4 separate regions of the Homo sapiens genome follow, and regions 1, 2 and 4 are each linked to region 3. Evidence: promoter capture Hi-C in 16 types of primary human blood cells and fetal thymus (Javierre and others, 2016). All regions are on one chromosome and are shown on one strand. The core of a region is centred on a gene start or on the middle of the fragment in contact, and the rest is flanking DNA. Distances in the headings are between cores, read along the strand shown.

Region 1 (7,530 bases), core at 4,046-6,545, 960 kb before region 3:
ACTCCAGACCTCATGATCCGCCCACCTCGGCCTCCCAAAGTGTTGGGATTACAGGTGTAAGCCACCGTGCCCGGCCCATATGCATGTCTTTTTGATGAGGTGTCTGTTAAGGTCTTTGATACATTTTTTTTTTTGTATTAGGTTGTTTTATTTCTTATTGTTGAGTTTTCAGTTATTTTTGTATGTTTTGAATAATAATCCTTTGTCAGACACGTCTTTTGCAAGTATTTTTTTCTCAGTTGGTGGCTTGGCTTTTCATTCTATTGATAGTGTCTTTTACAAAGAAGGAATTTTTAATATTAGTGAAGTCCAACTTATCAATTGGTTCTTTCATGAATTGTGCCTTTGGTGTTGTGTCTAAAAAGTCATTGACAAACCCAATGTCATCTAGAATTTCTCTTATGTTATTTTCTAGTACTCTTACAGTTTTGAATTTTACATTTCGATCTACGATCAATTTTGAGTTTTTTTTTAGGGGTATAAGATCTGGGTCTAAATTTTGTTTGTACATGGATGTCAGGTTGTTTCAGCACCATTTGTCAAAAACCATATCTTTTCTTCATTATGTTGACTTTACTCCTTTGTCAAAGATCAGTTTATATATGTGAGCCTATTTCTGTACTCTCCGTACTGTTCCACTGATGTATTTGTCTGTTCTTTTACCAGTACTACACTATTTTGATTACTGTAGCTTTACAGTATTAGCTATTCTGTTTTTTCTTTTTCTTTTTTTTTTCTTTTTGCCTCTCTATATAAACCTTAGAGTCAGTTTGTCAATATTCACAAAATTACTTTCTGGGATTTTGATTGAGATTGTATTGAGTCTATAGATCAAGCAAGGAAGAACTGACATTTTGACAATATTGAGTCTTTCTATCCATGAACATGGAATATCTTTCCATTTATTTAGTTCTTGTATTGCTTTCATTAGTTTTGTAGTTTTCTTTATATAGATCTTATACATATTTTGTTATATTTATATCTAAGTATTTAATTTTTGGAGGGGGTGCTAATGGAAATGGTATTGTGTTTTTAGTTTCAAATTCCATTTGTTAATTGCTGGTATATAGGAAATCAATGGACTTTTCTATATTAACCTTGTGCTCTGCAACTTTGCTATAATTGCTTATTAGTTCCAGTAATGTTTTTGTTGGTTCTTCCCAATCGATCTAAAGGAAAAACCTCTCTACCCATCACCAAATTGGAGGAGAATGTTGCTGCCTTCTGGGAGATATATACAGAGAAGTTTATAGCTAACAGCTTTCTTACAGCTACAAGGAAACTGGTTTTAAGATAATACTAATGCTTTGGCTGGCAGAGTAGCAAGATGGAAAGAACCTAGGTCCTTAACAATATCATCGAGTGGCTGAAAAAAACCAGCTCTGAATCCCGCCCAATCTCGGAAATCCCTAGACTTCCTGTTAAATGAGATATATTAAATTGTCTTTATTGTTCAAACTAGATAAAATTGATATTTTGGTTATTTGTAGTAATAGTTTTCCTTTTTAAAACAGACTTTAAAAGGAAACTGAAGTTTAGAGAAGTTAGCACCAACAGCAGCATCAACAACAACGATATTAAATGACAAAGCCAAGACTCCAACCCTTGATAGTCTGCAGGCTACACTCCATGCCCAAACCCAGTCCCACAGTGTTGCCTCCTCGTGAATACAATATAGAAAGTGTTTGGGAGTTTCTCAGGGGTTTGAGGAAGGGGGAGAGAAATAACTGACAAGTAGGGAAGATGTGGAAAATATTAAATAAACCCCATTATTCCCATAGAACTTGGAACAATAGACATGCCAGCAAAGAGAAAAAATGCTTGGTTCAAACTCTAGTAGAGAGATACAGTTATACTACAAACTTTGATAAACTTCATGGGACTTGAATTTTGATGTAAACTACAATTGATGCTTTTGTGTATTTTTGGAGGGACTACCCTACCCTTTTTAATCTTCCTTCCCTTCGTTTCTTGTTCTGTGATTAGGAGATGGGAAGAGATCATTTTCCTACTTAAAACCAAAAGAAAAAGCCCACATCCCTTTAGTCCAGAATAAAGGATAGGTTGACAAGTCATCACTACTTGATTTTACTTTTGTTGCTATCTCCTGGAGTGTGACTTATTGGACCTTTGCCTAAAGTTGGATTTGCTTGTCACTTAGATGTTGCAAAGTAGCTTCACGAAAGCTCTCTTAGCAAACTTGCTGATTGATGGAATGGATGATGCAGTTGAAACTGAAATCTGCTGAGAGACAAAGTAGAGAAAAATTTTGATTGTTAGAAAAATCAAGAAAGTAACTTCACTAGAAAAAGCAGAAGTTGTTTTCAAATAGTAGGCTCCACTGCATGCTATAGGACCTTACATTTTTATTTTGAAAAGGTTTAAGAATACAGAAAGCTTGAATAGGCATTTCTCCAAGGAAGATACATAAATGGCCAATAAGTAGATGAAAAGGTGTTCAATATCATCATTAAGGACATGCAACCCAAAACCACAGTGAAATATCCCTTCATACCTACTAGGATGGCTATAACAACAACAACAACAAAGAGAAGATAGTGTTAGCGAGGATGGGGAGAAATTGGAACCCTTATGAAGCGCTGGTTGGAATGTAGGACGGTTTAGATGCTATGGAAAGGAGTATAGTGGTTCCTCAAAAAATGAAACATAGAGTTACCATATGACCTAGCAATTCTGTTCCTAGGTATACAACAAAAAATTGGAAACACGGACTCCAATAGTTACTTCCATGGCAATGTTTATTGTAGCATTATTCACAATAGCCAAAAGGTGAAAACAACCCAAGAGTTCATCAACAGATGAATAAATAAACAAAATGTGGTACACACACACACACACACACACACACACACACACACGCTGGGGTATTATTCAGCCATAAAAAGAAAGAAAGTTCTGATACATGTTACAACATGGATTGACTTTGAAAGCATTATGCTAAGTGATATAGGCCAACAAAAAGGACAAATATTGTGTGATTCTACTTGTATGAAATATCTAGAATAGGGAAATTTATAGAGACAGAAGGTAGATTAGAAGTTACCAAAGGCCAAGGGAGAGGAGCATAAGGAGTTATTGCTTATTGCTCTCTCTTTAGGGTGGTGAAATTTTGGAAATAGACAGTGGTGATGGTTTTACAACACTGTGAATGTAATTAGTAAAATTTAAACAAAAAATACAAAAAGGAACAGAGAATAATATAGCAGTCACCCATGCAACCACTGGGTAGAATTGACAAATATTAACAATTTTATTTTATTTACTTCAGATGTTTCTTAAAAATAAAGCAAAACAGTGGCGGTGGTTTTACAACATTGTGAATGTAATTTGTAAAATTTAAAGACAAAATGCAAAAAGGAACAGAGAATAATATAGCAGCCACCCATGCAACCACTGGGTAGAATTGACAAATATTAACATTTTATTTTATTTACTTCAGATGTTTCTTAAAAATAAAGCAAAACATTGCTGATACAGTTTTTCCCATGTAGCAGATATGATTAGTATCCCATGCCACATCCCTTGGCCAATCTCTTTAGGCCTCTTGCAGCTATGGTGGATGGTTTCCAGGCACGCTGACTGCTTACGCCCTGGAGCACACGTTTCTCTGCCCCAGGGTTCCCTCTAGTGGCGAGAGAGCTTGCTTAGCCCGTCCACAGGGCAATCCCAAAGGACTGGAGGCGCAATGCCCCAAGGTCAATCCTCGATCAATGAGAGAAGGGAGTTGGAAAATAATTATCCCAGCTGCCTTGTCCCTTAGTGGATTGATTCTGAGGCATGGCTATTCAGGAGGTTCCTGCTGAGATTGAGTCCCAATTGCCCTAGATTAATACACACTTTATTGACTTACTCCCCTTCCCGTCTCTCTTTCCCTGCATCCTTACTATCTTCCTGCAATTGCCACCCCAATAAACTACTTGCATCAGACTCCTTGTTTCAGGCTCTGTTTTCAGAAGAGCCCAAAGTAGGACAGCCGCTTCCACTCTGTTCCTTTCTTCATTCATAAGAAGCAATCACTTTCATGAAGATGGTGTAAATGCTCCTGACCTATGTTTTTAAACTTGTGGCTAATACATCAACAATATACAGTTTAATGGATTTTAATAATTTTGTGAATGGTATCATTTTGTATGTGTATGCGTGTGTGTGTGTGTGTGTGTGTGTGATTCTACAACTTGTTTTTCTCACTCAATGTTTTTGAGATTGCTCCATGTGATAAGAGAGACCTGGTTCATTATTTGTAAGCACTGTGTGTAATTCTCACTATTGTATGACTGAACCACATTTTGTTTAACCACTCACCCCCATGATGAGCATTCATGCTTTTCCCCTGTGTTTTGCTATTAGAAAACATGTTCCAATGAACACTCTAACACCTTTGTTTTGTTTTTTTTTTTTTGAGACAGAGTCTCACTCTGTCGCCTAGGCTGGAGTGCAGGACTTCTTTGCAGAGTGTTTAAATAAAATGTTTGTTTAAACAGCAGCTAGGCTGGGCCCTTGTGGATTTATTTACTGGTCATTAGCTGCTAGAAGGAGAAGATGGGGAACAATAAGCTGAGAAGCTTCAATTAAAAGCTAGAAATTCCTGCCATTGAATATGAAGAAATGGATATGAGTAAAGTTGTAAATATCCAAGGGAAATTAATAATAATAATAAAAAGGACCCCTTTAAACCCAAACTCTATTTACAAGCAACCGTCTTCAAAGCTTGGCAGACACTGTTTCCTCTTCACGGACTACTCTTTGCAGCCATATCTCTGCCTGCCTAATTTCATTTAAGCTTCTACCCTTTCAGTTCTCCTTTTCAGGAAGCATTCTCTGACCTCTTGTATCAGGATAATTACACCAGTTGCATGACGGGCCAAACCTGAAATCCCAAAAGTTAAACACAATAAAGCTTATTTCTCACTCACATAAAGTGCCATGTAGGTTGAGCAGCCCTATACCGCCATGCTGCTGTTGGGGCATCTGAAACACGTGGACTTCAAGCTCTCTGAAGAGAGAAGAGGGGAGAGAGGAAGAGGAAGCAGAACAGCTCCTAATGACTTTGACCAGGAAGTGACATGTGTTACTTCTGCTCACGGTCTCTTGGTCAGAATTAGTCACATGACTCCATTGTAACTGCAGAGAAAGGTGGAAAATATAGGGGGCAATATAGAATATTTGGTGAGGATGAACAAGATTAGTCTTGTTAATCTGCTATACCATCAAGATTGTATCTGCTATGCCATCAAGAGTAGGTTGAGTGTCCTTTCTATGGGTTTTTAAATCAGCCAATCATAGCACTTCTCTCTCTTTCCCTTTTGATAATTTCCTGTGTATTAGTCCACCCAAGTCCCAAGCCTATAAATTCTTTGAAAGAACTAGAACTCATTCTCATTGGATCTTTTGCACTCAACCAAACACGGCACATTCAATAACACTCAATAGTTATTGAATACAAGGTAAAAGAAAAGGAATAAGTGGCTCTTCCAGGAATACAGCCATTAAAAAAATGGAGGCATAATTGTTTTTATATAAATCTCTAGCCTAGGAGATTGATTGTTTTATCTGTGGATCAGATAGCCTTTAATCTTCTAGATGTCAATCAAGTTCTTTGATCTGAGAAACTTCTGACAGGAGCATTTGAAATCTCCTCTCCCGTAAGCTTGTACAAGTGGTATATTTAATACCAGGCTCTATTCAAAGCTTCTTGGCTTTATTTTAGCTTGCCTATTAATTATGACTTCTTTTATGTCTTCCTATCATGCATACACAAATTAGGGACAACAAACTTATGACTTTTTCCCCTGAAACATGACCCATTTAAAAAAATTATTATTGTATTAGTCAGGGTTCTCCAGAGAAATAGAAGCAATAGAACCAATAGTATCTACCATTGGTTAGTATAAATAAGGAGGAATTGGTTTATGCTATTATGGAGGTAGGGAGGTCCCACAACCTATTTTCTGCAAGCTGGAGGCTCAGGGAAACCAGTGGTGCAATTCAGTCTGAGTTTGAAGCCTGAGAACCAGAGGAGCTGATGGAATAAATCCCAATCTAACGGGAGGAAGAGATGAAATGAGATGTCCCAGCTCAAACAGTGAGGCAGGGAAAAAAAGGGCAAATTCCTGCTTCCCCTGCCTTTTGTTCTACTCAGGTCGTCAGTGGATTGAATGATGCTCAACCACTTTGGGGAGGGAAATCTACCTTACTGAGCTCACTGATTCAAATGCCAGTCCCATCCAGAAGCAATCACAGACACCCCCAGAAACAATGTTTAATCTGGCCATCTCATGGCTCACTGAAGATGACACATAAATTTAACCACCACAATTATTATTATGTTTATGTAAAAGTAATATACACTTGTAAGGTATGTATTAGGGTGATGTTAGCTGCTATAACAAAAAAACCCCCATAAATATCAATGGCTTATTCAAATAGGTTTAATGTGGATATTTCCAATGGGCAGGTAGCTTTCTGTGCAGTGAAACGGGGAGGAAGCCTCCTTCTATCTTCTGTTCCTCTCTCCTCTAGGGCCTCAGAGTACTCTAATTCCACTTTCATTTTCATTCTACTAGCGAGAACTAGTCCTGTGTCCAACCTAAACACAAGATAGGCTGGGAAATGTAGTCCATGGCTAGATAGCTCCTCCCTAGCAAGACACGTCCTAGGGACATTTACTGGAGGACTCTCCAGCATCCACTTTGCGCCACAACAGAAAGGACCTTGACTTTGCTTAGTGGAATTCACCCTCTGCCATTGATGTGGTTTGGCTGTGTTGCAATCCAAATCTCCTCTAGAATTGTAATCCCTATAATCCCCATATGTCAAGGGAGGGACCCAGTTGGAGGTGATTGGGTTATAGGGGTGGATTCCCCCATACTGTTCTTGTGATAGTGAATAAGTTCTCATCAGATCTGATGGTTTTATAAGGGGCTCTTCCCTCTCCACTTCCTGCACATTCTCTCTCTCGCCTGCTGCCATGTAAGATGTGCCTGCTTTGTCTTTTGCCGTGATTGTAAGTTTCTTGAGGCCTCCTCACCATGCAGAACTGTGAGTCCATTAAATCTCTTTCCTTCATAAATTACCCAGTCTCGGTGGTATTCTTTATAGCCATGTGAGAATGGATTAATACAGCCATTTTCAGCCACATGATTTGGATGGAGTTGACATTCTTGCTACAGTGGGTGGTGCAAGGCAATTAGCAAGTTGTGCACCATTGGCCACAGTGACTGGGTCAGGGATGGGCACATTATATAATTCAGGCCAATGGGAAAAGTGAATTTTCAGACTTGTGCTCAAGTTGTCAGAAGACTCTTTCTTTATTTTGTAAGATGCGTTTGAGAATGAGAATGTGAGATGTGGAATAGCTTCTGTTGTTTAGCTATCATGAGACAGAGAGCATGTGTCTGTGTGTTTGTGTGTGTGTGTGTGTGTGTGTGTGTGGAGTGGTGTGGGAGGGATGATCAAGGATCACTGCTTGGAGTCAGAGGATGAAGCCAACTTCTGGAAGGCAGAGCCCTG
Region 2 (6,774 bases), core at 3,540-6,039, 560 kb before region 3:
TTAACAAAATAGGTGGAAATACTCATTACAGTTACAATCTTCATTTTTGAAACTGGTCATGTGGCTGTAGCTGACATTTATAATTACTTTTTTTAAAAAAACAACAACAACAACAACAACTACCCATTCTGTATTTCCTTTGCCCTCAATAAGCAACTCAGTTGGTCATGGCTTGTTACTTGGTGGGATGACCCAAACCTTCATTCCTAAAGAGTGTGGGCCATTTGTAGTCCTACCTGGATTGAGATGTTGTAGTTTTTCACTGACCCTAATCACAGGGCATGGTAATTTTAAGGGATGCCCTAACGGATCTCCTGTATTCCAGACACACTCTTCCTTACTGCCATTGCGGAGCAGTATTTAATTTCCCCTTGATTGTCCAGATCAATCATCCCAGCCAGCACCATCACTCTCTTCTTAGCCTGTTGACTCAGAAGCATAGAAGCCCCAAGTGGCCGCGTGGCAGTCTTAACTCCCAGTTCAATGGGATCATTGTAGTGTTTCCTAGTAGAAGCATTTCTCCTTCTGGAACTAAGACCTCTAGGCCAGCAGAACATAACATTGTGGGAACAGGAAGTACAAATTTTGCTAGTGGGTCACTAGGGGTAATGGTTAATGGTGCACATCCCCCAATCCACTCAAGCTGATGCCAAAAAAATTAGCCATCACACAAACTTTTTCCGTAAAGGGGCAGATTGCAAATCATGTGGGCCTTTCAGGCCATGCAGTCTCTGTTACTACTAGCCAACTCTGTGGCTATAGCAGGAAGGCAGTCATAAGTAATATGTACCTAAATGGATTTGCCTGTGTTATAATGAAACTACTTGTCAAAACAGGCAGTGGGCCACATTTGACCCATTGGCCATAGTTGGCCAGCCTCTACACTAAATCGTTGCAGCAGCTTTTTCTTTCTGGAGAGGTAGAGGGGGGAGAGAGACAGGTCCATGGAGTCAGACAGATTGGGGCTTGAACCTGGATCTGCCTTCAAAGGTGTATCACCTTGAGATAAATGACTCAGCTTTCTGAGGCTCTGTGGAGATTTGTTGACTTTTCTCCCTAGCATCCTTCCCCTTCTCCTTCCTGAGGTAGCAAGACAACAGGTACCATTTGATATCTTTGTTCTATATTGCAGTTCAACTTCTCCTTATGCCAAATCCTGTGATTCTCATGCCCTTATGGGTATTGTTTCTCCCCAGTCAACCTGGCTTAAGGTGATATCTTTTCAAATCCATGCCCCACAACCTACTAGAAATCCTAGCCTCGTGGACGAAATCTTATTGGACTTTTCCTTTGACCTCCAGTTCTGCCAAAATGAACCTGCCCCACGTTCAACTTCATTTGAGGGATGATTTCTAGCATTATTCTGTGCTTCAAAGCAGCAGTCCTCAACTGGGGTGACTGTGTCCCCAAAACACATCTGGCAATGCCTGGAGGCATTTTTGGTTGCCAGAGTTTGGGCAGAGGGCTGCTGGCATCTAACAAGTAGAGGCTGAGGATGTTGCTAAATGCTCTGCAAATCACAGGAGTAATGCAATGCTCCTTCCTCCACCTACCCAGCCCCCTACCCCCAGAATAGATCATTATTTCTTCCAAAATGTTAATAAGACTGAGGTATAGAAGCCCTGCTACAAGGTTAATGGCAAATAGTAGCCTTTTCTTTGGTAAAAGGTATGTTTTAGGATAATGTCTCCATTATCCTTCCTAAGAAAATCTTTAATCCACTAGGCCCCTAAATATCAACATTAGAAAAAGCTGTCTATCTGTTTGAGGGTTTATGGAAGTCTATCTAGATGTAGGATTTAATGAATTACTCATGTCTTTATTTTTCTGAACTGTAAAAGGTGGGGGGTGGGGGTGGGCATAGAAATAGAACATATCTCGGGAATTTTATGAGGACCAAGGGCTACTAACTATGTGAATTCCTCAGGATAGCGCCCAGTACTTAGTAAGCACTCAACTTCAGCCACCATTTTTATTTACTTTACTGTATATTTGTAGTAAAGGTAGTAGTGGTAGTAAACGGGAAAATTTCCGGTTGCTCTAATCAGGGAAAGCAAATCAGTGGTTTTGGGAAAGAGGGAGGCAATTTCAGCTTGAACCAAAACAAAATTGACATGAAATTCCAAGAAAGGGGCTTTAGCTTTAGACAAGAAACTCTAGTTCAGACTCAAGTTGCAAAATCAAAATACACATTCAAAGCATCTGAGCACTTAGGCTGATAGGGAGAACCAGAGTTGGAGGAAATAGCACCAGTTTTGGGGCTTCAGGATTGTAAGTTTTGGACTGATTTTGCACAAAGCTTAGCAGCCATCCATGAGAAACCCATGGTAAGACAGGCCAGTGAAAGAATGGTGGCATCGACCAAGTGTGATTCTCAAACTCCTCCAACAGGTCAGGGAGGCCTTGGCAACATCTCCCTGCAGATGAGGTGATTATTCTTTAGAGCTACCCTTAATTAAACCCTAAGTGCTAGGTAGCACACTTACCTGGAAAGCTTCCTCCAATCCTCACAATTACTCTATAAAGAAAGTCACAGAGTTAATCTAATTATGCCCATTTTAAAGATAAGGTAACTGAGGCATGGAAAGCTTAAGAGATGAAACTTCTGTGTAATTCTCATGACAGACAAGTAGTGGAATGAGGAGAAAAGAGGATGCAGTTTGAGTCTGAGAGAACCTGGATCTTTCTGTTAATTAGCATTGCCTTTGGGCATAACGTAACTAGGAAAAAATTTTTAAAGAACAATCCTGCCAACTAAATAGTGAAGCAATTAGATGAAAGTCAATATTAACAAGCTTCTGCAATTCCAGGGAGCCAACGGCAGGGATTCAGAAGCCTCTGCCACTTGGCAATTTTGTAGACTTGTGGCCTAAGGGGAAGGGATGTGACACGGGAATCAATTCTTTGCCTGCTGATTAGCCCATTTGCTCGATATTTCCTGAGCAGCCAGCAGTCCTGTCCCAGCCACAACCATGAGGGCGCTGCCAAACTGGAAATGATGAAATAAAGAATCTGCTAAGGAAGCTCTTTCTTTAAGGCAACAGAGCTTCCTGGTTTGTACCTATTCATGACTTACAAATGCTATTTTTTCCTTCTTTTAGACCTTGGCTACCAGAAGCACCAAGCCAAGATCAAGATTATCACTCTCAATAGGTGACGTTTAATTCCTTCATTTCTGCAACTGAGAAGGCAACAGAGCTCCCGAGCAACTCTTCAGAGTAGGTGAAGCCCTCCAGCCACAACAGTCCCAGGAATCTTTCCAGACTCCTCTCTGTGTTCCACAACTTTCAAGAACTCTTTCTCCAAGTACTGCTGATTCCACCTGCACGCTGCCTCTCCTGCCCACATGGTCCTCTCTCTCTCCACACCTGCTACTTAGTTCCCATCCTCACTTTCCTCAGGATTGAACTATTGCAATAGCTTCCTCACGGGTCATGCCATGCTCTTTCTTCCCAATCTATCCTTCACATGAAAGCTATAGTGAACTTTCTACACTGCAGGGTTTTTTGTTTGTTTTTTGAGACAGGGTCTCACTCTGTCACCCAGACAAAACAGAGTGCAATGGCACTATCACAGCTCACTGCAACCTTCCCCCCCCAGGCTCAAGTGATCCTCCCACCTCAGCCTCCCTGGTAGCTGGGACCACAGGCATGTGCCACCACACCCAGCTAACTTTTTTGTATTTTTATTTTTTATTTATTTATTTATTTATTTTTTAAGATGGAGTCTCCCTCTGTCGCTCAGGCTGGAGTGCAATGGTGCGATCTCGGCTCCCTGCAACCTCTGCCTCCCGGGTTCAAGTGATTCTCCTGCCTCGGCCTCCTGAGTAGCTAGGATTACTGGCGCCCGCCACCACGCCTGGCTAATTTTTGTGTTTTTAGTAGAGACGCGGTTTCACCATGTTGGCCAGGCTGGTCTCGAACTTCTGACTTCAGGTGATCCCCCCGCCTCGGCCTCCTAAACTGCTACGATTACACGTGTGAGCCACTGTGCCTGCCCAACTTTTTTATATTTTTAGTACAGACAGGGTTTTACCATGTTGGCCAGGCTGGTTTCGAACTCGTGACCTCAAAGCCATCTGCCTGCCTCTGCCTCCCAAAGTGCTGGGATTACAGGTGTGAGCCACAGCACCCAGCCTACATTGCAGTTTTGCCTGTACCTTAGATGGTCCCAGAACAATAGAATGAAATTAAGCTCATTAACGAGACATAATATCCTCTGAAATCTAGGCCTCACCTAATCCTTCACCCTCATCTCTCACACCTGTTTTCTTCAGGCCTCTGTATTGAGTGATCTGTTAGTTTCCTGAACTTTTTTTACCTTTATACATGCTGTTTCTTTTGTCTGAATTACTTTTTCTTCCTTCTCCAACCTGAATGAGATTAAATAAGTGGTTTGACTCTATTTATTTATTTTTAAAGAATTTTTTTTTTTGGTAGAGGTAGGGGTCTCACCATGTTGCCCAGGCTCATCTTGAACTCCTGGGCTCGAATAATCCTCCCACCTCAGGCTCTTGAGTAGCTGGGACTACAGGTGGATGCCACCATACCCAGCTATTTTTTTTTCTTTAAGCAGAGATGTGGGTCTCACTATGTTGCTCAGCCTGGTCTTGAACTCCTGTCCTCAAGTGATCCTCCTGCCTCAGCCTCCCAAAGTGCTACATGAATAGATTAATAAGACTGGAAAATACTAGGTATGCAACAATTCTTCTTTATTGAATGGGTGAATACTTCCTGGGTGAATACTTCCTTAAGAAAGTAAGTCTAGGCCGGGCACGGTGGCTCACGCCTGTAATCCCAGCACTTTGGGAGGCCGAGGTGGGCGGATCACGAGGTCAGGAGATCGAGACCATCCTGGCTAACACGGTGAAACCCCGTCTCTACTAAAAATACAAAAAATTAGCTGGGCGTGGTGGCGGGCGCCTGTGGTCCCAGCTACTCGAGAGGCTGAGGCAGGAGAATGGCGTGAACCTGGGAGGCGGAGCTTGCAGTGAGCCGAGATCATGCCACTGCACTCTAGCCTGGGTGACAGAGGGTCTCAAAAAAAAAAAAAAAATTAAAAAAAAAAAAAAAGAAAGTCTATAAATCTTTTTTTTTTTTGAGAGGGAGTTTTGCTCTTGTTGCCCAGGCTGGAGTGCAATGGCACAGTCTCGGCTCGCTACAACTTCTGCCTCCAGGGGTCAGGCGATTCCCCAGCCTCAGCCTCACGAGTAGCTGGGTTTACAGGCTTGTGCCACCACGTCCGGCTAATTTTGTATTTTTAGCAGAGACAGAGTTTCATCATGTTGATCAGGCTGGTCTGGAACTCCTGAGCTCAGGTGATCCACCCGCCTTGGCCTCCCAAAGTGCTGGGATTACAGGTGTTAGCCACTGCGCTTGGCTGTAAGTCTATAACTCTTTAGAGAACCACTAAACCTGAAGGGCTAGGTGTCTTGGGTTCAGCCACCAGGACAGTGCCTCAGCCAGTCTTTGAGGACACTAAGAGTTGCCCAAGAGAGGCAAGTGTGCACAGGTTGGGAGAGCTGTCAGAACTGCAGGCTTGAGTTTCTATTAATATTATTGCCATCTCTGCAAGGGTGCCACCTTCATTTGCCAAAGATGTTTGAGCAAATCAAAACTGTCTCGTTGATATGTTGTCTATTGGATAAATGACATGTTGAGAAATGGATTACTGCCTGAGACAGCAAAAGACACAAGTAGAAAGCTGAAAGTGGTTTTAACAAGGAGCGATGAAGGACAAGGATGGGTGTGCTCATGCCATACTGAGCGGCTGGTTGGCAGAAGGTGATGACTCTGGAAGGCAAGTCCAGTTTCTCTGAATGTGGGGCAGGATTTGCCACAAGACCTAACCGTAGTATTCTGCATCATTACAAATCCAGACCAGCTGTAGTCGACCTAGGACAAGTCACACCAGAGAGAAGGAAGGCAGATTCTGCCCATAATATGAATCTCACTAACCTTGGGCTGCTTTAGAGTTAGACCCATGGATCCTCATGAGCACCCTTGTTCTAAGATATCCAACTGATAAGCTCTATCATATCCTTTTAAGCATCAAACAAGTTCTACTCGAACCTATCCATCCATATGTGACAGGCACTGTGGTTGTCCCTAAAAACACAAACTACTAGAAAACTCATGGGCTTTGGAGGAATTACACATTCTTGAGTGCCAGGCCTGATTCTGGCATTTACCAACTGTGGGACATTTGTCAACTCACATAACTTCTGATCTTGGGGTTCCTCCTCTGTAAAGTGGAGCTAATATGATGGATCGGGGGGGCTTGTTGTGAGGATTAGAGAAATGAGCATAAAGTTTCCAGCACACAGTAAATGACTGATATATAATGAGTCTTGATATCATTATGATGTGACCCTGATGATACCATTCTTCTCCATGAGGTGTTCATGGAGCAGCCTCATTTTGAGGTTGCATGTGTGTGTTCTGTTTGTATATCATATAGACCCCCATCTCCCAGAGGACAGGGATGATATTTGTTCTTCTGGTATTTGCCATGAATCCAGGATTGATGGGTATGCAGTAGACACTCAATCACTGTCCATTGAATATGCAAATGGATATGTTTAGGGATAATACTAATAACCATATAGGCTGCGTGTGGTGGCTCGTGTCTGTAATCCCAGCACTTTGGGAGGCTCAGGTGGGAGGATCACTTGAGCCTGGGAGGCAGAGTTTGTAGTGAGCAGAGATCATGCCACTGCACTCTAGCCTAGGCGACAGTGTGAGTGTCCCTGTTAAAAAAATATTCATAATCATA
Region 3 (7,026 bases), core at 3,604-6,103:
GAATTGCTGTCTTTCTCCTTTTCTCAGCCCTAATTAGCCCAGAAGCAAGCAGGCCACAGGCCCAGGACTCTGAACCTGCAAACTGGTATCTTGGAGGCCTCTGCAGCAAAACCCAAGTTTACTGGTCACTAGGGGCAAAGTTTATAATGGGGGTGCGACAACATACTTTATGTCTTTCAAGAGAATATGCTTTCAGTCTGGATGAGAACAAACCCCCATTCAGGGTCCCTTGCAGCTCCAGACAAAAATTAAGAGGCTGTGACTGGCAGGTTAATTTCACCTGGAAGCTGCCTGTGACTGGCAGGTTAATTTCACCTGGAAGCTGCTTTGTGTCATAGCAGCCTCTCTGATGCCAAGCTTGGCAAGTTGACACCCACTGGAGCAACCCTTGGCACAATCCGGCAAAGGCTACTGGGTCAGTTGCCATAGCTGGGACTCCAAGTGATTAACTGCGTAAGCAGCCCAGGATGCATTTGGCAGGTACCTGGGGTAGCCCCAGCACCACAGAAAAGTTACATACGTTGAGAAACAAGCAACAGAATACAAATACGGTCAGGCACAGTGGCTCATGCCTGTAATTCCAGCACTTTGGGAGGCAGAGGTGAAAGGATCGCATGAGGTCAGGAGTTCGAGACCAGCCTGGCCAACCCCAGGCCAGGTGGAACCCTGTCTCTACTAAAAATTCAAAAAAATTAGCCAGGTGTGGTGGTGCATGCCTGTAGTCCCAGCCAGTCAGGAGGCTGAGGCAGGAGAATCACTTGAACCTGGGAGGCGGAGGTTGCAGTGAGCGGAGATCCTGCCACTGCACTCCAGCCTGGGTGACAGAGCGAGACTCTGCCTCAAAAAAAAAAAAAATGCAAATAAAATAAGAGATTCACAGTGGCTCCTCTCCTTTCTCCTGGATTAATTTATCCCTCCATCAGCCCTGTGAAATATCCCCAAACCCAAGACCAATGTTTCCCCAAGTGTGGACCACTTTATCTCAAAGCCATTAGGGGAGTGGGGGTTGTTAAATGAAGATTTCTCGGGCCCACCCAGAACCTATTGATTCACAATCTCTGTGGATAGAACTCAAGAATCTGCATTTTAGGACACTGCCCCAGATCCTGATGTTTATTCAATCTGAAAACATCTGTCCCAGACACAATTAAAACCAGGAGACTGGTAATGCATAATTTCCTAACTGTGTGATCTTGGACACAGCACCTCACCTGAGCCATGATTTTCTTGCATGTATGTGAATATTAAAATAGTACCTGTCTCATAAGATAGTTGTGAGAACTAAATGAGAGAGTGTTTACTTGCACACACACACACACCCCAGTACAGTGCCTGGCTCCCTGCACAGTGCTCAGCAGGCATTAGTTCCTTTTCCTTAACAGCGATTGGCTGCACATTAGCATCACCTGGAGAGCTTTTCAAGGTGCAGATGCAATCGGGCACAGTGGCTCATGCCTGTAGTCCTAGCACTTTGGGAGGCTGAGGTGGGAGGATCACTGGAGGTCAGGAGTTCAAAACCTGCCTGGCCAACATGGTGAAAACCCGTCTCTACTAAAAATACAAAAAATAAATAAATAATAATACAGATGCTCAGGTCCCACCCTAGAGATTTGGATCTAAGTAGCCTAGGGTGGGACCCCTGGTGACAGGATTTTTTTTATAAAACATTCTAGGTAATACTACACAGCAGTTACAGTTGAAAATCATACCTTAGAAGCTGCCAGTAAAAATCAACAACTCTCTTTTCGGGAGTATGCACTTCCACTCCATTCTGGAATTCTCAAAAATGTATACTGGGAGGACCTGTGTTGAGGCTCTGGTACCCTAGGACTGGGTCCCCTAGATTCTGCCACCAGGCCGACCCTCCCTATACCTGCAGAAGAAAGTAGCTGCAACCCGCTCAGCTGTGTTCATTTTTCCCCCAGCAGAGCTGCACGGGGGCAGGACCAGGAAGTTGGGCCCTTGGGTAACCGGTAGAGAGCTGTCACCAGAACGCCCAGATCAAAGAGGGCTGATCTAGCATCACTTTCTCCCACAGATGCCCAAAGGTTAGCTCCTCTCCCCACCTGCTCACCTCCCGTCAGGCCAACCATCAAGGAGGACTCTTTTAAGAGCTGGTTCGCGAGGGCAGGGCTTGATGGAGATTTCAGCAGTAGTTAACCAAATCTGCAAGGCAGCCTACCTGTCTCGGAGTCAATCTTTCCCTACCAAGGCGACACCCGCTGCCTCAGTCCTGAGACCACTTCTCCCCTCATCTTAACACAGACCCGGGGAATTAACAGGGACTGGCCTGGCCGGTGGGGCTGGGGACAGGCCACCCTGTGGTTGCGGAAGGTGGGCGGGGCCAGAGCTTTACTCCTTTAGTAGGTCAGGGTTTCTTTGAAGCCCCTCGGAGCTTACTTCTGTGCAGCAAGACCCCACCATCCACCCACAGCTCCCTGCTGACCCAAACCGAGAACTTCCTCACCTCTTCCCCCAAAATCTCTTCTCTCTGGGGGAAAAAAAAAAATCTCATCGGATACTCTGCGTATAAATAGAAAATAATTACTAGTGAGGTGGTGATGTTCCTTTGCCTATTTTTGGTGGGTCTCTTTGTTCAGATTTTTTAGGCATCACACGGAGCGCGTGCACACACGCGCGCACACACACAGGCCCCCGGCAGAGGGGGCGCGGAAGAAGGGGTGGGGAGAGGGTAGAGAAAAATACAGCGACTTCGTTGCCCAGACTCTGAAAGGGGACAGTTAAAGCTTATGCCCCAACCATCCAGCTGTTCGCAGGCCGCTAGTCACTCCTTCCACCCCGCCCGCCCGGACCTCACGCCAACCCCCAGCCTCTCCCGCGGCCGGGGGCTTAGTGCTCCTAGTGGCTGCGTCCTCCGCCTCCAAAGTTACGGAGTTTGCGAATCGATTTAGACACTTAAAATAAAAAAAATTTAAAAAAAGCAAAAGGCAAATAGCTCCATTAATCCCCCAAAGCCTTCTCCCATCTGCTGGAACTAGCTGGTGCTGGGGCTTGCATAATGAACAAGGCAAACCCGAAAGTTGACGAAATCAGGGTGCTTGGAAGTGAGGGCGCGCGAGGAGGGGGCTCGGGCCCCCGGAGTCCACGCCAGCCAGGGCAAGGGGCTCAATCTGCAGCGATGGCCACGGCCCCGGGCAGGGAGAAGTGGTGGCCAGAGAAAGGGATGAGGTGGGTAAAGGGGCGGGGGCAGCTGAGGTCCCAAATCCAGGGACGGCGAAGCTCTGGGAAAGCGAGGCGGCCGCTCCAAGCAAGGCTTTTGTTCTCGCCCTCCCCTCACTCCACCTCCCTCGTCTCCTTTTCGCGAGTCGTACGAGTTGCAGGCGGCACTCACTCTGACCCTCCCTCCTTCACACACGCGCGCTCGGGCTCACACACGCCCCCCTCCCCTTTCGGGCTCGCCTGCCCCTGTTTACCAAAAAGCTAGCACCTGGAATCCGAGGGGTGCCATGGACCCTCTCCCCAAACCCGAAGATTTCGGGGCCACGGGCTCCCAGGCTACGTGTCTCAAGTCCGCCTCAGTCACCAGCGGGAGGAGGCGGCCAGAGGGTGAGGGAGCAGAGTCACACACACACACACACACGCTCACACACACACGAACACGCTCAGACCCACACCTGTGCTGAGCCCAGCGCCCCTTCTCCGTGTTCCAAGCCGAAGTTGGCTTCCCGGTGACATCCCCCAGCGGAGAGGCTGGGATGCGGGGAGCGGGGACCGTGGGGAGCGCCATTGCCTGGGGGAAGGTGGGGAGGAGAGAGCAGGGAGAGCGAAGCCCCGAGGGGAGGGCGAAGGGGAGGCAGCCCACCTGGACATGTGCTCCCTTTGGGGCCGGTGCGCTTTCTCCAGCCCCAGCTTGGTGAAGATGCCCACGAGCACCATGACGGCCACCACCCCGCAGATGATGTAGACGATCAGGTTGGTCTTGTCCTTGGTGGGGTCGTGCAAGGGGTCGTCCTTGCGGGCGGGGGGCTTGCCGGTGTTGAGCCAGAGCGGCGTGTCGTAGTTGGTGCAGGTGCTTTGGTTCAGTCGCCGCTTCTTAAACGTGCAGCAGAACCGGAAGCCACAAGTCCCGCAGCAGAAGATGAAGTCGCCCGAGCTGCAGTTGAACGGCGGGTCCCACTGGCCCATGACATCGAAGTAGCCCCGGCAGAAGTCCGGCGTGGGCGCCCGGGTCGGGGGCGCGTCCGATGCCTCAGCGCCCTCGCTGGCCTCTCCGGAGGCGGCCCCGGAGCGGTTGCCCCCCGCCAGCAGCAACACGCCGCCCAGTTGCGCCAGCTGCCCGTGTCCCGCTCGCTCCTGCGCCCGGCACACGCGGGCGCACAGCTCGGTGAGGAAGCAACCGAGGAGCAGCCGAAGGACGCGGCGCATGGTGTCTCCCAGCCCGGGCTCGGCCGCTCGGCCGCCGCTGGAGCCTCTGCGGCCGCCTCTCGAGGCGCGGCCGAAGCTGCCGAGGCTGCTGCCGGGAGCTGCGAGCCGCCGCGGGCCGCACATGCAGGGAGCGGCGCGGGGCGCTCGGTGGTCGGCGGCCACTGCGCTCGGCTCAGCCCGCGTTCGCCTCAGCCCGCGTTCGCCTCCAGCGCGCCGCGCGCCGAGGGGCCGGCCGGGGAGGAGCGCGCCCGGCCGGGCGGGGGGAGGATGAGCGGGGTCAAGCGCGGGGTGCAGGTCCGGCCGGCCACTGGGTGAGGCGGGGGTGGAGAGCAGAGGAGAATCGGGCTGGCAGCGCCTAGCCTTGGCCGGCAGCCCCGGACTGGCCGCCCCTAGCCCTCTCGCAGTATCCCTCTCACCTCACCAGCTCGCCAAGTGCGCTGAAGAGAGCGAAGCGACACTTGTGGAATGAAGGGAGGGCAGGAGGGAAGGGGGAGGGGGAGGAGGGCGGGCAGAGGAGGCGCGGGTGGGGGGGGGCGGGCGCGAGCTCTAGAGGGGCGGGGGCGCGGGGAAGAGGTGACTAGAGCGGGAGCTAGCTGGGGGGCGTGCAGAGCTGAGCCAGGCGAGCGGACGGGGAGGAGCGAGCTCGGCAGCAGCCGAGGCTAGAGGAGCCGCTCGGATTTCCAGGCAGGTGGAAAACCGCGGCAGGACCTCCCGCGCCCTCTCTGGGTAGGAGGCGCGGCTCAGCCCTGTCCAGAGCGCAGAGGCGGCTCAGCTCGTAGCTTTTTCACCGGTGCGTGTGCAGGAGCGGCGGCCGAAATCTGTGCATCAGGGGAAGGATGACTCGGAGAGGATGGGGACAGACTAAATGGCTTTCACTCCAAGACAGACTGGGTGCAGTCTGGTCAGGATCGCCCCTCCCAGGCGTGCGGGGCCTCCTTGCCCTTCCCGGCTGCGCCCTCCAGCCCTGAGCGCAACCCGCATGGCTCAACTCTCTGGGCCCAAGCAAGGACCCAGGCGGAGCTGGGAAGGACAGGTGGCAAGCCCCTGAGCCAGGGATAAGCACCCTCCGGGGGAGAGGGGCTCGGGATGAACGAATCAAAGAAGGTCGGGGGTAAGAGGGGACAGCCGAACAAGGCCGAGGCTATGGCGTGTCCTGGAAGGTCTTTCCTTGGAAGTCCCCCAGCCTCTCGAACCTGCCGCTTTCTGTCCCTCTTCGCCCCCGCAGCGTTTTCTGCGCTCCACAGGAGGGAACACCGCGGCGCCGCCTCTGCGCTCCCGGATCTGGCGCAGCGCAAGGCCTGGGCACCCAGCCTCAGCCACCCTCCCGGACCTGGAGCCCGCGCATCGGTCTCTGGAGCTGGCTGGCCCCTGTCCCCACGGATCCCCCCGGAAATCCTCACCGGGGGCTGCAGAGCTCTGCCTTGCTTCCTCAGCTTCCAGCCTCCCGTCTCCTCTGTGTTTCCAAATCTGCCCTCTCTCTCCTAGCGAATTCCAGCTCCCCGGAGGCCCTCTCTCATTTCTCCCACCTCTTTCTCTCCTCTGCTTGAATTTGACTCCAGTAGCCCCAAAACAGGATTTGCACCAAAGCTGCTACACCAAATTTAGATCTCCCCACGCCCCGGCGTTTTGTTTTTTAATTGCATTAACTAAGTATACACTTTGCAGGCTGCTAGGCGATTTGCAAGGAGATAATGTTTCCACAACCCTCCTCTCCACTTGGCTGCAGTCAAGGGCTTCTCAGGGCATCTTCAGAGAACGAAAAGTTGGGCGACATGTAAAATGGTTTACTAGGGTCCCCTGAATTGAGAAAGGGTGGGAGGATTTATTGGGACTCTGTTGCAAGTTTTCTCCAAATGAGAAGTTTGGCTAATCGCCCCTTCTCTTTGAAAAAAAAAGTCACATTTTGATGTTTCAAAAAAGATTTGCAAACACACAGCAAGACATTGACAGGGCATACCCAGGAGTATTATATTCCAAACCCATCTGGGGAAGGTATGAACACGTTTAATCCAGATTCACCAGATTCATTATAATAGAATCCCCAAAATAGGAGAGTATGGAAAGTCTGTCATGACTGGCAACCCACGCCCACCACCACCTTGTGAGTCCTACAAACACAAGCACTGGTGTGTGAGAGCTAATGAGAGCTGACATTTATTCAGTGCCTGCAACATACTCACTAAGCTTGCTTTTTCTAAAAGCAGCTCCTCAAGAAAGCTTAGAGCAGTGCCCAGCGTATAGCAGACAGTCTGGAAATATTTGCTGAACCACCGAGTGACTGGTTTCATGTAACTCTCTCTCCCTTAGGTAATAGTACCAGGCCCACACAACAGAGGGAGAGAATGAGCCCCAAAGCAGTTAAACCAGTTGCCCAAGTAGCTCTGCCAAATGAGTGCCAGAATTGACATTTGACCCAAGAAATTTGAGTCCAGAAACTGCCCTCCAGCCACTACATGAAATAGGCCTCCAAACTTTCTGTCTACCTCCTACTATATTATGTATTTGCGTTTTCGTCTGTTTGCCTGCACTGAGATGTGAACTGTGTAATGGAGAGGGCCTCGACTCCCATACCATGTCCCCAGCCCCTAGAACCCAGGCATACGGAGCTGCCTTGCGGGTCCATGGCTGCGCCCTCCAGCC
Region 4 (6,670 bases), core at 14-2,513, 570 kb after region 3:
CCCGTCTGGAGTGCAGCAGCACCATCGTAGCTCACTGCAGCCTCAAATGCCTAGGCTCAAGAGATCCTCCCACCTCAGCCTCCTGAGTAGCTGGGAATACAGGCACATGCAACCATGCCCAGCTAATTTTTTTAATGTTTTGTAGAGATGGGGTGGGAGGGGTCCTCCCTATGTTGCCCAGGCTGGTCTTGAACTCTTGACCTGAAGAGATCCTTCCATCTTGGCCTCTCAAAGTGCTGGGATTACAGGTGTGAGCCACTGCACCTGGCCTTATAGTCACCACTAAACATCACTGATTTGAGCTTTTTTTGCTTGATGAAATGAATTCTTATACTCCCAGCAGCAAGAGTTTCACTTCAAGTAAAATTAAAGAATCTTTTCCAAGTCTGGATGACTCCTCCCCCTACCTCCCTGCTGTCCTGGAGTTCAAGGCCCTCAAAGATCTATAACTCAGACATTTAAGACAATAGCGAGATGATGATCCACCTTCCTGGAGATTGCAGCCCCTCTGTCCTGGGACACCACTCTGGGAAGTGCTGCTAAGTGTCCTGCTCCCCTGCTGCAGATGATGTCATTTCCCACAGGAACGGTAGTGAAGCGACAGTCAACCTCCCCTCACATGCATCTTGGCAGGGTTTGTTTTCTGACGCATATTCGCTGACGGAATGCTCAGTCGATGACAGGCCCAAAGGTTTGTGTATGACATCAAATTTGAAAGACTGTTGCTTTTTAAAAAAAAAAAAAAAAAAAAGGCTCTGGGGCTGATAACTTAAAGCAAAAGGGGCTGACACAAATGCCTATAGGGACCAGGCAGGTAAAATAATTGAGAGAAGCAGGCTAGGTGGGGATGGGGTGACATGGTGAGGACTGCCCTCTTGAAAACAGGGCCACCACTACTGAGCCCCAAGTGAACACACCCACCTATGTGGGAGCTTTCCATTTTCTCAAGGGAAATTGGAAATAGTGAGCTTTATGGGAAATGGCCCGAATGTTCAGCATTGTCAATAAATTCAATCCTAAAAACCGAATTAGCCAAATCAAACAGATCTATGGGCTATATGCAGCCCAGGATGCCAGATTCTTATCTTTGATTTAAAGGGGTCCCATAATGTTTGCGGGGAAGGATACTTTGTCATCAGAATAGCATCCCTGTGTCCCTGTTTTATGCATCAAGATTAAGTGAAATCATTCATGCAAAGTGGTTTGCACGGTGCCGAACACAAAAGAACATTCGAATGCACCCGGGGATGATTTTTTTCCCCAAGGTGGGACTCACCTACACAGGAAGACAGAGCTTCACAAAAGCGAAGCCCCAGACCTCAAAGTCTCTCATGTTTCTCTACCAAAGGACCCACCAACAAACAGTTGCTGTGAAAGTTGCCCCAAGCTAAGCGAGTTCCTTGGCGGTGTGCTTTGTTTCAAAACATGCCATCCCAAAGATCTCCAGACTGCTTAGGTTTTTAAACCAACATTTGTCATTTTGCTGCACTTGTCTTTACTCAAAACCTCAAAGACCTAAAGTGGATGGCTTCAGAGGTGACAGTGTCTTTGAAGTGTTTCCCTACGTCTAGCTGAAAGGGATGAGCCATGTTTTCGCTTCCCTACAAGGCCGTCTAAAAATTAAACATCCCAGATATTTAACAAACACACCCATCAGCCACAGGGGAAGACAAGGAACATCCCCATGAGGTTACATTCATTTCAGTGAGATGGCAAAGATAAATGCAGGGCACGGAAACGCGGGATGCATCTGCCTGGCAGCCACACCTGTCATTCTCCATTCGGGTCTCTGAGAATAACTGGAATGGACCTGGCTAAACATGGCCTTTTCTACCTCAGCCATCCTACAGGGTAGGACCCTCCTTCCTGCCCAGTCCCCAGGACATAGGCTCTGTGAGAGATACAGATAATGGCTGAAGTAATAAGACCTTCTCACCTGCTTGGGAAGAAATTCTTATCAGGAGCCATGAAAAGATTAGAGAGTCCGGACTGGGAGCCCTGGGGAAGAGGAAATCACACCCTCTTCATCACAGCTACAAGCCCAACACCTAGACAGCACCAGGCCCATCACAGGTGCTTGATAAATGTTGTTGAATGAACAAAGGTACACTGAATTCAGCACACCCATACTGATCATTGATCAGATGTAATTGATCAAATTACTTAATCTCTGAGCTTCAGCTTTCTTCTCTCTCAAACAGGGAAAACTCTACCAACATCCTAAGAGTTGTAAAAATTAACTGATTGCGGCCAGGTGCGGTGGCTCACGTCTGTAATCCCAACACTTTGGGAGGCCGAGGCAGGCAGATCACGAGGTCAGGAGTTCAAGACGAGCCTGACCAATATGGTGAAATCCCATCTCTACTAAAATACACAAAAATTAGCCGGGCATGGTGGCACGCACCTGTAGTCCCAGTTACTTGGGAGGCTGAGGCAGGACAATCACTTGAACTTGGTAGGCGGAAGTTGCAGTGAGCCAAGATCGCACCACTGCACTCCAGCCTGGACAACAGAACAAGACTCTGCCTCAAAAAAAAAAAAAAAAATTAACTGATTGCCTGCAAAACATTTGTGAATGAACAAATGCACACTGCTAAATATCCAGGATGCTAAATACTCCATTCCCTTCATTCTTTCCTCCCTTCTTCCATTTCCTCCCCTCTGAAATACTGCCTGCGGAGCGTCTGTACATGCACACTAACCGCACGAGCAGGGGTGGCCATGAGGGTCTCAAAGCGGGCCCAGGAGAGAAGTGAGCTTGGAGGTGAGGCTTGAAGGACGAGGGCACATGGAGTGACGAAGCAGGCGGGCAACAGCAGCCAAGACGAAATGAAAGAGGAGCAGACAGGACCGTGAGGACTGACGAGGAGACCAGAGGCCAGAAGAACCAAGGGCAGGAATGGGGAAGTGCTAGAGATCAGGCTGGGAGGATAAGAGAAAGACAGAGGTGCCCAACCCTGGTGGCGGCCAGGGGCTGGGATGCAGGTGGACCTGGAAGGTGGGCCTAAGGACGGGGTTCTTGAGCGTCAAAAGCACCTGCCCATGGACCTCGGGGGAGCTCACAACCACTCCACCATGCAGCACTGGGTCTTCCTCAAGCTTTGTGATCATGGCCTTCAATATGACGAGGACGGGGGAGGATAGAGTCATCACTTTAACAGGCAAAAGGCGCACAAAGAGAGTAACACATTTTTAAAACGCCACCAATAACACAGCTTTAACAAGCCTTTCCTAACAGGCACGACTAGCAAATGAGCAACCCAGCTAGATGCCAAAGTTAATTTGCTCAGAAACTATGGAAAATGACGGAGCTTCATGCAGGGGAAAGCCAGATGCAACCATTTGGCAACGAGCTGAAGACACGCACTTGTGCATGCATATGCCCGTGCACACACACACAAACACACACAAGGACGCAAGTGCACACACCGCACGCACACCTGGCTCTGAGTCAGGTGAAAGTTCATTTTCCCTGACCATCAATTTTCTTCTAGGATGAGGATAATAGTAATAATGTTAATAACAGCATCAGTAACAGCAAAAGTAAGTAATGCTCACATTGTAAATTATTTCTTTATTATTATTATTTTTTTGAGATGGAGTTTCGCTCTGTCACCCAGGCTCCAGTGCAGTGGCATGATCTTGGCTCACTGCAGGCTCCACCTACTAGGTTCAAGCGATCCTCCTGTGTCAGCCTCCCAAGTAGCTGGGACTACAGGCGTGCGCCACCACTTGCCTGCTAAGGTTCCTGGGGCATTCACTGTGCTTGGCCAAATTGTTTAATTCTTAAAACAATATTCTGGCCAGGCATGGTGGCTCACACTTGTAATCCCAGCACATTGGGAGGCTGAGGCAGGCAGATCACCTGAGGTCAGGAGTTCAAGACCAGCCTGGCCAACATGGTGAAACGACATCTCTACTAAAAATACAAAAGTTAGCCAGGTGTGGAGGCGGGCGCCTGTAGTCCCAGCTACTTCAGAGACTGAGGCAGGAGATTTGCATGAACCCAGGAGGCAGAGGCTGCAGTGAGCCAAGATCGCTGCCACTGCACTCCAGCCTGGGCAACAGAGTGAGACTTCATCTCAAAAACAAAAAAATTCTGGAACAGGTCTTCTGTGTTCTCATTTCACAGGTGGGGAAACTGAGGCTCAGAGACATTAAGGAACATGCCCACAATGACACAGTGTGTCAGATACAACACCTCATGCTCTCAGCACCTATACGTACGCTATGCTGCTTCAAATGCTTTTTGGAATAAGACCAGGTAAAAATGAATAAAAATTAAATCAAAGTTTAGACAGCTTCTGTGTCTTTTTCTGGTACCAAGCTAGGCCCAAGAAATGCATGACCAAGGGACCCACTTGGAGCACGTAGAGAAGGCTCTGTCCTGTAAATCTCATGATCTCTGTGTAGGAGTTTCTAGGAGTGAAACCGGGCAGCCAAGCCCAGCAGCCTGGAAAGTTGGGCTCAGCAGCTGAGGCCAAAGCTCTCTCTGGAGAAGGGCCAGTCAGGCCTGCCAAGCTCATACCAGCAGAGGATTCAAGGTAGGAGCCCATGGGGTGCAATCCACAGCCCCCTTCCAAACACAGACACAGGCTCTGAAGCAAGGAACTGTAGTTGGCTACAGAGGCCCAAAGAAGATGAGAAACTGAATTGCTCCCAGTGTGTGGACAACAGTCAAGGAAGCCTTCTGCAGCCTATAAGCCAGGGGGCTAGCATGCCTGGAGTGGCCAACCACATTCTGTGTCAGGGCTCTGCCCCAGGAGCCTTTGCAGGCAAGTGCAGGGAAGACCAGCTTTTCCATCTGAACGTGAAGCTGCACCCAAACTCCTCCATCCGCCAGACCTACACTGGGCTGCTGAGTGACCAAATAGAATCCAGGCCTAAAAATATCTGAAGTGATTTTCTGGGAGCAAGGATGCCACCCTCAGCCCTGAAACCTGCCACAAGCGCCGCCAGGACTCGCGTGCTGGTTAAGAACCAGGGCTCTGGGGTCCAGCCGCCTGGCTCCGCTGCCTGCAAAGATGTCACCTCAGGCTACTATTTCAACCCACTGGGACTCAGTTTCCATATTCTGTAAAAAGGTGACAATGGTGACCACCTGTCGTCCAGAGCTGTCGGGAGGATTAAACAGTTCGCAGTGAAAGCGTGGCTCACAGATGCATTGCGTGAGTGTTAACTATCATTACTTATGACCGTCAAGCCCATTTCAGGCTGGAGTGCCGTGGTGTGATCTCAGCTCACTGCAACCTCTGCCTCCTGGGTTCATGCGATTCTCCTGCCTCAGCCTCCCGAGTAGCTGGGATTAGAGGCGTCCGCCACCATGCTTGGCTAATTTCTCTATTTTTACTGGAAATGGGGTTTCGCCATGTTGGTCAGGCTGGTCGCCAGGTGAGGAAACAGGCACAGAGAGGTTAAGTCGTTTACTCAAGGCCACAAGGGGACCACCATTTCCTGAGCACATCTCTGTCCCAGGCACCAGGCCAACTGTTTCACATCACTGATCCTGAGCCTCCCGCAACAACAACAAAAGTGACTAATACTTAAGCTGTAAATTATTTAATTCTCAAAACAACATTCTGCAATGGGTCTTCATTATCCCCATTTCACAGACAGGGAAAATGAGGTTCAGAGATGTTGAGGAGTGTGCCCATCAGGATAGTGTCTCAGACGCAACAGCCCAAGCTCCTGCACCTATCTGTAAGATATGCCACTCAAATGCCTTTTGGAACAAGACAGGGTATAAATAACTGTTAACGCGTCTTAGTCCCTTCAGAAAAAAACAGCTCTTGTCAAAGAGGAACAGTGATCTTTGTGCTATTCAAAGAACAGGTCTGAAAAATACAAGTCAAGTCATTCAACAGAAGCTGAAAAGAGAAGGGCCACTTGGCATGTGTGCCAACACCTCAATCCCACCTGAGTGATCTGAAGCAGAGGACTCGTTGCCAGTGAACTGTGAGCCAACGCATAGCAGAAAAACATGCTTAGCAGCTGGCATGGATAGACACGAAGGTAATACACACTCCTGTTTATTGCATAGGGCTGTGTGGGGTACAAATCACTCTCCAATCATTTATGCCACTGAAAAATACAATCATAAAAACCATTAAGAGGAGGGCTAGTTCCCAGCTAGGAACCAAATTATCTTTACCAGACAACACTGGTCAGTCCTGCGGTTTATGTGCCAGGCACCATGCAAGTGGCTGGGATGACAAAACCCAGTAAGCCAGCACCTGCCTGTGGAGAGTTCAACTGGACACAGCTGCTAGTAGCAACCCAGTATCCATCCCAGGTCTTTGCCTACAGTTGCTAAGCTGCTGAGATGGACGCCTAGAGCTACTGGGGGTATTTTTTCACTTTTTTTTTTTTTTTTTTTGAGACAAGGTCTCACCATGTTGCTCAGGCTGGAGTGCAGTGGCATAATCATAGCTCACTGCAGCCTTGAACTCCTGGGCTCAAGAGATCCTCCTGCCTCAGCCTCCTGAGTAGCTGGGACCACAGGTACGCACCACCATGCCCAGCTCAATTTTGTTTTCTATTTTTTGTAGAGACTGGGTCTCCTGATGTTGCCTAAGCTGGTCTTGAACTCCTGACCTCAAGCCATCCTCCTGCCTCAGCCTCCCAAAGTGTTGGGATTACAGGTGTGAGCCATCATGCCTGGCCAGGGGGT

What was found. The method cuts DNA at HindIII sites, captures the fragments that hold promoters and counts their contacts. A CHiCAGO score of 5 or more calls a contact.
Region 1: a fragment that was not itself captured here is called in contact with the fragment with the promoter of SHISA9 in region 3 in 1 of 17 cell types (endothelial precursors); the score reaches 5.1 in endothelial precursors.
Region 2: a contact is called between a fragment that was not itself captured here and the fragment with the promoter of SHISA9 in region 3, in 3 of 17 cell types (M1 macrophages, M2 macrophages and M0 macrophages). The highest score is 7.1, in M1 macrophages.
Region 4: a contact is called between a fragment that was not itself captured here and the fragment with the promoter of SHISA9 in region 3, in 1 of 17 cell types (neutrophils). The highest score is 5.7, in neutrophils.

The regions. Positions count from the first base shown.
Region 1 is chr16:13,862,433-13,869,962 of GRCh38, reverse strand. No RefSeq gene overlaps it. Among named protein-coding and RNA genes, the nearest start is that of ERCC4, 54 kb to the left of the region's middle. RefSeq lists an enhancer at 3,577-3,871. The HindIII fragment of the contact is 750 bases long and covers 4,921-5,670 here.
Region 2 is chr16:13,459,905-13,466,678 of GRCh38, reverse strand. It overlaps a transcript of SHISA9 not described here. Among named protein-coding and RNA genes, the nearest start is that of ERCC4, 460 kb to the left of the region's middle. RefSeq lists an enhancer at 6,659-6,774. The HindIII fragment of the contact is 3,984 bases long and covers 2,798-6,774 here.
Region 3 is chr16:12,899,425-12,906,450 of GRCh38, reverse strand. It overlaps SHISA9 (shisa family member 9), which reads right to left and starts at 4,853. Exons shown (of 5, transcript NM_001145204.3): 1 at 3,824-4,853. The coding sequence starts at 4,386. The HindIII fragment of the contact is 3,823 bases long and covers 2,750-6,572 here.
Region 4 is chr16:12,328,983-12,335,652 of GRCh38, reverse strand. All of the region lies in intron 15 of SNX29 (sorting nexin 29), which reads right to left. Among named protein-coding and RNA genes, the nearest start is that of SNX29-AS2, 40 kb to the left of the region's middle. RefSeq lists an enhancer at 2,906-3,406. The HindIII fragment of the contact is 3,677 bases long and covers 1-3,101 here.